Regions from separate parts of the Homo sapiens genome. Here region 1 is linked to region 2. The links are contacts of gene promoters, found by promoter capture Hi-C in human tissues and cell types (Jung and others, 2019). All regions are on one chromosome and are shown on one strand. The core of a region is centred on a gene start or on the middle of the fragment in contact, and the rest is flanking DNA. Distances in the headings are between cores, read along the strand shown.

What was found. The method cuts DNA at HindIII sites, captures the fragments that hold promoters and counts their contacts. A contact is called where the count stands out against the background at its distance.
Region 1: a contact is called between a fragment that was not itself captured here and the fragment with the promoter of MRPL27 in region 2, in 1 of the 25 tissues and cell types used here (thymus).

What each region holds. Positions count from the first base shown.
Region 1 is chr17:50,190,572-50,193,071 of GRCh38, forward strand. COL1A1 (collagen type I alpha 1 chain) reads right to left here. Exons shown (of 51, transcript NM_000088.4): 26 at 2,423-2,476; 27 at 2,226-2,279; 28 at 2,069-2,122; 29 at 1,904-1,957; 30 at 1,409-1,453; 31 at 1,217-1,315; 32 at 812-919; 33 at 246-353; 34 at 1-25. Among named protein-coding and RNA genes, the nearest start is that of COL1A1, 9.8 kb to the right of the region's middle. The HindIII fragment of the contact is 7,477 bases long and covers 1-2,500 here.
Region 2 is chr17:50,370,290-50,375,695 of GRCh38, forward strand. It overlaps MRPL27 (mitochondrial ribosomal protein L27), which reads right to left and starts at 2,895. Exons shown (of 4, transcript NM_016504.3): 1 at 2,842-2,895; 2 at 166-297. The coding sequence starts at 2,881. EME1 (essential meiotic structure-specific endonuclease 1) reads left to right here and starts at 2,940. Exons shown (of 9, transcript NM_152463.4): 1 at 2,940-2,988; 2 at 4,896-5,406. The coding sequence starts at 4,920. RefSeq lists a silencer at 484-645 and enhancers at 2,429-2,898, 3,039-3,258. The HindIII fragment of the contact is 32,602 bases long and covers 1-5,406 here.

The DNA.
Region 1 (2,500 bases), core at 1-2,500, 180 kb before region 2:
CAGGGCCGCTGGGACCACTTTCACCCTGAGAGCAAGGGACAAGAGGCTCAGGGTCAGGGCCTCCCCTGAATACTCCTAGTAGATGACCCCAGGAGAGCCTCCCCTCCTTCTGGTCCCTCCAGGTTCCCAGGTTGACAGCTCAGTTTGGCAGGACCTGCTCTCCCAACGCAACCCCACGGAACCGTGCCCAGGCCTGCTGAGGAGGCTATGTGTTAGGGCAGAAGGTGGGGAGGCGGCCACCTCACCTTGTCACCAGGGGCACCAGCAGGGCCAGGAGGACCAATGGGGCCAGTCAGACCACGGACGCCATCTTTGCCAGGAGAGCCATCAGCACCTTTGGGACCAGCATCACCCTAAAGACATGGATAAGCTTGAGATTTCCAGTGTGGGGCAAGGAGGTGACCTATAGTGTTCTGCTTGTGTCTGGGTTTCCTGAGAGGCCCTCTGCAGCTCTGCCCTGCCTCCACCTGGGCCAAGGACTCAAAGATTCTTTCAGGAAAAAGGGTGCCTGCCTGGAGACTCAGGTGGAACTGAGGTTAAGAGGCCCCTGACTTGTGTAGCGGGATGAATAAGGGAGCCTCCACCAAGGAGATGCCCCCACCTCTCATCACCATGGTAACCCATGGGGATAGATGGGCCTGGACCACAGGGAGAGGATTCATCAGCAAAAAGGCCAGAGGGGAAAGGGGAAGAAGGGAGGATTAGCGAGAAGAGGGACAGATCCCAGAGAGAAGGAGAGATGCTGAGAGATTCAAAGCAGGCAGAGATGGGAGCCATGTAGGGCTCAGGGGAGGGGGAAGGTTGAACTTACTCTGTCACCCTTAGGCCCTGGAAGACCAGCTGCACCACGTTCACCAGGCATTCCCTGAAGGCCAGGGGCGCCCTGGCTACCGGGAGCTCCAGGGGCACCAGCATCACCCTATGTGACAACCAAGAAGACTGGAGTGAGGCCTGGGGCCCCAAGAGTGGGTCACAGCCCTAAGCCCCGCTTGGTATCTCCCAGGCTTGTTTCCAAGGCCAACGACAAGCCTTGAGAAAAGATGAAAAGACTCACAGCCCAGACTCCAGGCTGTGTGTGGGCCCCTGCCCTGGTCTTTTCCCCCCACCCCACACCCTATCTCCATGGCTTTGGTCATGGCCCGCCATCCCCTGCTGCAGGAGGGGTGAGACCTGGTCCCTGGGCCACTTGCCAGAGCCCCTTCCACGCTGCCCTCACCTTAGCACCATCGTTGCCGGGAGCACCGTTGGCCCCTCGGGGACCAGCAGGACCAGGGGGACCTTGCACACCACGCTCGCCAGGGAAACCTCTCTCGCCCTAGAAGGGAAGGACAGGGCATGTGAAGGCTGCTCTGGAGATAGGGCCAAGTACGACGCACCTTGACGGATGCAGCGAGAGAGGCCTACTTACTCTTGCTCCAGAGGGGCCAGGGGCGCCAAGGTCTCCAGGAACACCCTGAGGGGGAGGGAGAGAGGAACAGACAGTGAGCAAAACCCACCTGGGGCCACTCTGCTGGAAAGCACGGTCCTTCCTCCTGGGGTCTGGCCGTGATTAGAGAGGAACCCCTTCTCAGCACTGAATTGAGATTATCCCAAACAGCCCCTCTCTTCCTCCTAGGGATGTGTCAAAGGCTTCCCCCCTCCCCAAACTATGGACCAAGATTTATCAATAGAAGGGTTGAGGGAAAGTCACAGCATATTCCAGCAGCTCTTAAAAGAAGTCACCCAGACTAGCAATCATGCAGCCCCCACTTCCCTCTGTGCTGCTCCCTTCATGGGAGGAAGTTCTTTCCGGCGTCTAACCTCAATCCCTCTAGTTGATGGCTGTCTGATTAGCTAGGAGCGGGGGCCTGTCCCTCTGGATTCCCTGCATCTCCCACCCCTCTGGCCGGCTGCTCCCTCTTACCTGTTCACCAGGTTTGCCTGCTTCACCTGGAGGACCAGCAGGACCAGGGAGACCCTGTAGGTGGGAAATGGGGGAAGAAGGGAGGGAAGGTTTAGAATCTGGAAGAGACCAAAGAGGTGTTTCCTACCCCTACCTCCCAGCATCCTGACAGCCATGAGGCCTCACCTGGAATCCGGGGGAGCCAGCAGGGCCTTGTTCACCTCTCTCGCCAGCGGGACCCTGCACAGAGAGAACACTACAGTCACGGGGAGGCCGAGGAGACGAGGGGCTGAGGGTGTCTCCCCTTTTCTGCTCCCCAGATCTCCCCATCAGGGACACTCACAGCAGGGCCAGGGGGTCCCTGAGCTCCAGCCTCTCCATCTTTGCCAGCAGGACCCTGCAGGGAGAGAGCAAAGGGGAACTCAGGGTTAGGAGGCCCCGAGCAGCTGAGGACCGTGGCCTCTAGCACCCCTCCTGCAGGGAGGAGAAAGTGCCGGGGCAGCAATGGGAAGGAGGTAGGGATGGAAAGGAGATACTTACGACAGCGCCAGGGGGTCCGGGAACACCTCGCTCTCCAGCCTTGCCGGGCTCTCCCTGTGGAGAAAGGGAGTTAGGGTT
Region 2 (5,406 bases), core at 1,645-4,144:
CACCCACTCGATGACCCTTCCTCAGGTCTTATCCGTTCCTTTAAACTGGAGCCAATTATGATGGTAAGGAAGAACAGGGCCAGGCACACGCAGGGTTCTTCTGCTCTCCTAAGGAACATGAGGACAGGGTGCAGCTAGGAAGGGGAAGCCAAGGCACATCCTCACCTTCCATTTTCTTAATGCCTTGGCGTCTGCCTGATGACTTTCCACCGAGGTTTTTGGAGCTACCACCCGACTTCTTGGATGCGTATCTGACAGCAAGAGCTGTAGCCGGAGTGGGGCTTAGCAAGGATGTAACTGCAGAGAAAACAGAAACATTGTTCAGACAGACAGGCTCAAACTATTTCTGCCTCAATGGGCCACATGCTGATACGTGAGAGGCGGTGGGGAGATGAGAAAGCTGTGTCAGGGGAGCAGAAGTGCCACTGAGTGTATTAGTTCTCAGGGAATACCTCTAAGTCCTTGGCTTTCTCCTTTTGGGGGAGGGGGCGGGGGAGCAGTGAAACACAAATGGAAAAAAATAAACATCATGTGTTCTGGGTTCTGACACATTCAGTCTAAATGTGCTGAGGAGAAATGGACACCAGAGAGCTGCCTGCTTCAGAGGCTCACTCACCCTCATGCACCACGGAGGGGCCAGAACAGACTTGGGGAGCCCAGTACATCCAGAAAGGCTTCGGTTTCAGGCTCACCCACGACTTTCTTTCTTTTTTTTTTTTAAAGACGGAGCTTCACTCTTGTTGCCCAAGCTGGAGTGCAATGGCATAGTCCTGGCTCCCTGCAACCTCCGCGTCCCGGATTCAAGCGATTCTCCTGCCTCAGCCTCCCAAGTAGCTGGGATTACAGGTGTACGCCACCACGCCCAGCTAATTTTTCGTATTTTTAGTAGAAACGGGGTTTCACCATGTTAGCCAGGCTGGTCTCGAACTCCTGACCTCAGGTGATCCCAAAGTGTTGGGATTACAGGCCTCACCCATGACTTTCTCAGCTGTCCACTCATCCACTGCTCACCAAATACTAGTAAACCAAAAGGATGGCTGGCCTAAAAGTGGCTCCCACAGGGTCCTGGCCATTTCAGAAGGCTGGGCCCTTTCTTCTCAAAGCACATCAAGCAGAGGTCCAACCATGACCCACACACTGCCCTTGTTAATCTGACCTCTCCATACTCATTCCAAAGTGCTCAATAGCATTCATTTGCAGAAGTAAAATGAACTAAAATTCATACTAAGATGGTAGTCCCTTGCTGTATGACAAGCCTAGGGGTGCAACTCCTTGCCTGCAGGTCTCCAGACACAGCCATGATTTAAGGTCCATGCCAGTGTCTTTAGAGAAGCCTTGTGGGTCTCTGGAGCCTATAAGTTCAGAGTTCCTGAAGCCTGGGTTTCTGACATTTCCATGACACCAGAGACTAGCTGGGGCAAAGGACCAGAGATAAGGACTCAGAAAGACAACATGTTAAAACATGCCCGGCGCCAGGATCTACCTACCTTTAAACATCTATTCATTCATTTACATACTTACTAAGCTCAGGAGCTGGGCTTTTACTTTACTTACATTATCTCACTCACAAATCTTTGCTCTTCACCCTACTCCCCATCCTCCTCCTCAAAGTAAATGGTACCACCATTCATCCAGTTGCTTAGGCAGAAACCAGAGTCATTGCAGATTCCTTCTCTTTGCTGTCCTCACATATTGTTCACCAGCAAGCTCTGTGGATGCTAACTCCAAAACAGATCTCAAATTCATCCGTTTTCCTCCAAGTTCACTGCCACCACAAACATCTTGGCTAAATCATCTCTCCTCAGGGCTATTACGACTTTCCATTTGATTTCCTCATTTCCACTCCTATCCCCTTTAAATTTACATAAGAGCAATAGTTTGCTTCTCAAAATGTAAAACTGGCTCAAGTCACTCTCCTGTCCCTCACTCTACACAGGTCTAGGTCTCCTGTCATTCTTTTTTTTTTGGGGGGGGGGGATAGGGCCCCATTCTGTCACCCAGGCTGGAGTGCAGTGGTATGAACATAGCTCACTGCAACCTCGACCTCCCGAGCTCAGGTGATCCTCCCACCTCAGCCTCCTGAGTATCTGAGACCACAGGCAAGCGCCACTACACCCAGCTAATTTTTGTATTTTTTGTAGAGATGGGGTTTTGCCATGTTGCCCAGTCGGTCTTGAACTCCTGGGCTCAAGCGATCCGCCCACCTAGGCCTCCCAAAGTGTTGGGACTACAGGCGTGAGCCATCACGCCCCGCCTGTCATTCTTTAGGTTTTAAATGTTATCTCCTCAGAAGCCTTCCTTCACCGTCCAATCTAAAAAAAGACACACACACAGACACACATTATCCTTCTTCACAGCACTTGCCAGTCTACATCTACTTTATATGTTCATTTATTGCCTTATGCACCAGAGAGAACCGTTCGGGGGCTAGAAGCCAAGTCTTCACGTTTTCTGCTGATTTTCCGAACACCTACCGCCGTGTCTAGCACAAAGTAAGACCTCAATCTGCTGAATCAATAGATTAATTTTTTCAACCCCAATATGCCAATGTTACTAATACTTCTACAGAGAAAGGACCCACCCAAATCCCCAACCGCCAAGGAACCCGTCCGTGCTGCTGAGGCAGGAGAAAGACAAGTGCTCTTCAAACGCCCTCACTCACGGCTCCACCCAGGATGTGTCACGTGACCAGCGACACCGTCCCTCAAACCTGGAGTACCCCACACACTTCCCCTCGCATCCAAGGTCCTCCGCGGGGATCAGTGTCACCTCCTTCCCTCCCTGCTGGAGCTCCACTCTGCCTCCCCGCCTCACCCCGCTCTGACTACTGCGTCCCATTACCGGCTGTCCGGGTCCTCAGCGCCAACACCACCGACGCCATGCTTTCGATCACTCACTTCCGGTCTCGAAAAGTTTCTACTTCCGCTATCAGGAGATCTACTTCCGGGCCCTGCGTGGCAGTTGAAAGAGTGGCGGGAGAAGTTGCAGGTGAGCGTCCCCGGTCGCAGGCCTGCGGATTGGGCAGGGCTTCCCTCCTGAACACCGCTCTGCAGAATCTTGGTGGCTAAGGTGTCCAGGAGCCTCTGCAGCGGACCGCCAGCCTGAGAGGCGCAGAGCTTGTCGGGCAGGGGCCCGCTTGTCCCACTCCCCTGATTTGCAGATGTCAACGGAGGCCCAGCGAAGGGTCAGAGATGAGGCCCCCTCCCTAGTCATTCAACTTACTCTACTTAGCCAGCTGTGTGCCAGATGCTGTACTAAGCGCGGTGGATGCATTATTTTATTTAATTCTCACTACCTTATAAAATGGGTGCTGTTACCATCCCTGTTTTACTAAGGAAGAAACTGAGGCCTAGGCAGGTTACATGTCTCCTTCTGGGTCATACCTACAGTGTTAGTAAATGTTCAAGAAATGATTAGCTTTGCATATGACCCAGCAATTCTACTCCTAGGTATATACACGAAAGGGATTTGAAAACATACCCCCACAAAAACTTGTATGTCAGTGTTCATAGCAGCATTATTCATAACAGGCAAAAAAAGGAAACAAATTAAATGTCCAAGTGATGAATGGATAAACAAAATGTAGCATATCCATACAGTGGAATATTATTCAGTCATGAAAAGCAATTAACTACTGATACAGGCTACATCATAGATAAACCTTGAAAACAAGCTGAGTGAAAAAAGTCAATCACAAAAGGCCACATAGTGTATGATTCTATTTATATGAAATATCCAGAATAGGCAAATGCATAGAGACAGATTTATGGTTGCCAGGAGCTGGGGAGGGAGGGAAAGGACAGTGACGGCTTAATGGCTGCAGGAATTCTTTTTGAGGTGATAAAATAGTGATGATGGTTGCACAACATTGTGAATATACTAAAATCTACTGAATGTACACTTTTAAAAGGATATTATGCTGTGCAAATTATATCTCTATTTTTATTTTTATTTTATTTTTCTTTTGAAGCAGGGTCTCACTCTGTCACCCGGGCTGGAGTGCAGTCGTACAATCACAGCTCACTGCAGCCTTGACCTCCCAGGCTCAAGCAATCCTCCCACCTCAGCCTCCTGAGTATCTGGGACTACAGGTGTGAGCCACCATACCCAGCTAATTTTTGTATTTTTTTGTAGAGACGAGTTCTCACTATGTTGCCCAGGCTGTTCTCGAACTCCTGGGCTCAAGTGATCCTTCTGCTTTGGCCTCCCAAAGTGCTGGGATTATACGCATGAGCTACCATGCCCAGCCTATATCTCAATTTTTAAAAAGAACAGTTTTTGGCCAGGTGCAGTGGTTCACACCTGTAATCTCAGCACTTTGGGAGGCCAAGGCGGGCGGATCACTTGAGGTCAGGAGTTCAAGACTAGCCTGGCGAACATGATGAAAACGCATCTCTACTAAAAATACAAAAATTAGCCAGGTGTGGTGGTGGGGCGCCTGTAATCCCAGCTAGGCTGAGGCAGGAGAATCACTTGAACCTGGGAGTGAGGTTGCAGTGAGCCAAGATTGTGCCACTGCACTCCAACGTGGGTGCCAGAGTGAGACTCCATCTCAAAAAAAAAAAAGAAGAACTTTTGACATCTCCATTTCAAACGTGAAGATAAACAAGGGGTTGGAGGTGTTAAATCTTGTTACCACCTCCCCCCATTAAAATTTTGTAATGGTAACTCTACTTTGTTTATACTTCAGCTTGACCTGGAAAGAATTTGAGGAGGATTCCTGTTAGATTACCAGGAGTTAGAGTTCCAGATTGAATGTGTTGGGGCCATGTCATATTTCTCTGTTTCTGTATTCTCTATATCTTATATTTATGTCATAAAGCCTGGCTATGGAACACAGCTAGTGGACTGAATTGAATGCTCCAGTCTGTGTCATATGTCTCTTTTCCTTTTAGGGAATTATTTGATAGCACATACTGATGGCTCTAAAGAAGTCATCACCCTCACTGGATTCTGGTGATAGTGACTCTGAGGAGTTGCCAACATTTGCCTTTCTGAAGAAGGAACCATCTTCAACAAAGAGGAGACAGCCTGAAAGGGAAGAGAAGATTGTAGTGGTTGACATCTCAGATTGTGAAGCCTCCTGTCCTCCAGCACCAGAGTTATTTTCACCACCTGTCCCAGAAATAGCTGAAACTGTCACACAAACACAGCCAGTCAGGTTGCTAAGCAGTGAAAGTGAAGATGAAGAAGAATTTATTCCTCTGGCTCAAAGGCTTACATGTAAGTTTCTGACCCACAAGCAACTGAGCCCTGAGGACTCTAGCTCCCCAGTTAAAAGTGTTTTGGATCATCAAAATAATGAAGGTGCATCATGTGACTGGAAAAAGCCCTTTCCAAAGATCCCTGAAGTTCCCCTCCATGATACCCCAGAGAGGAGTGCAGCAGATAACAAGGACCTGATCT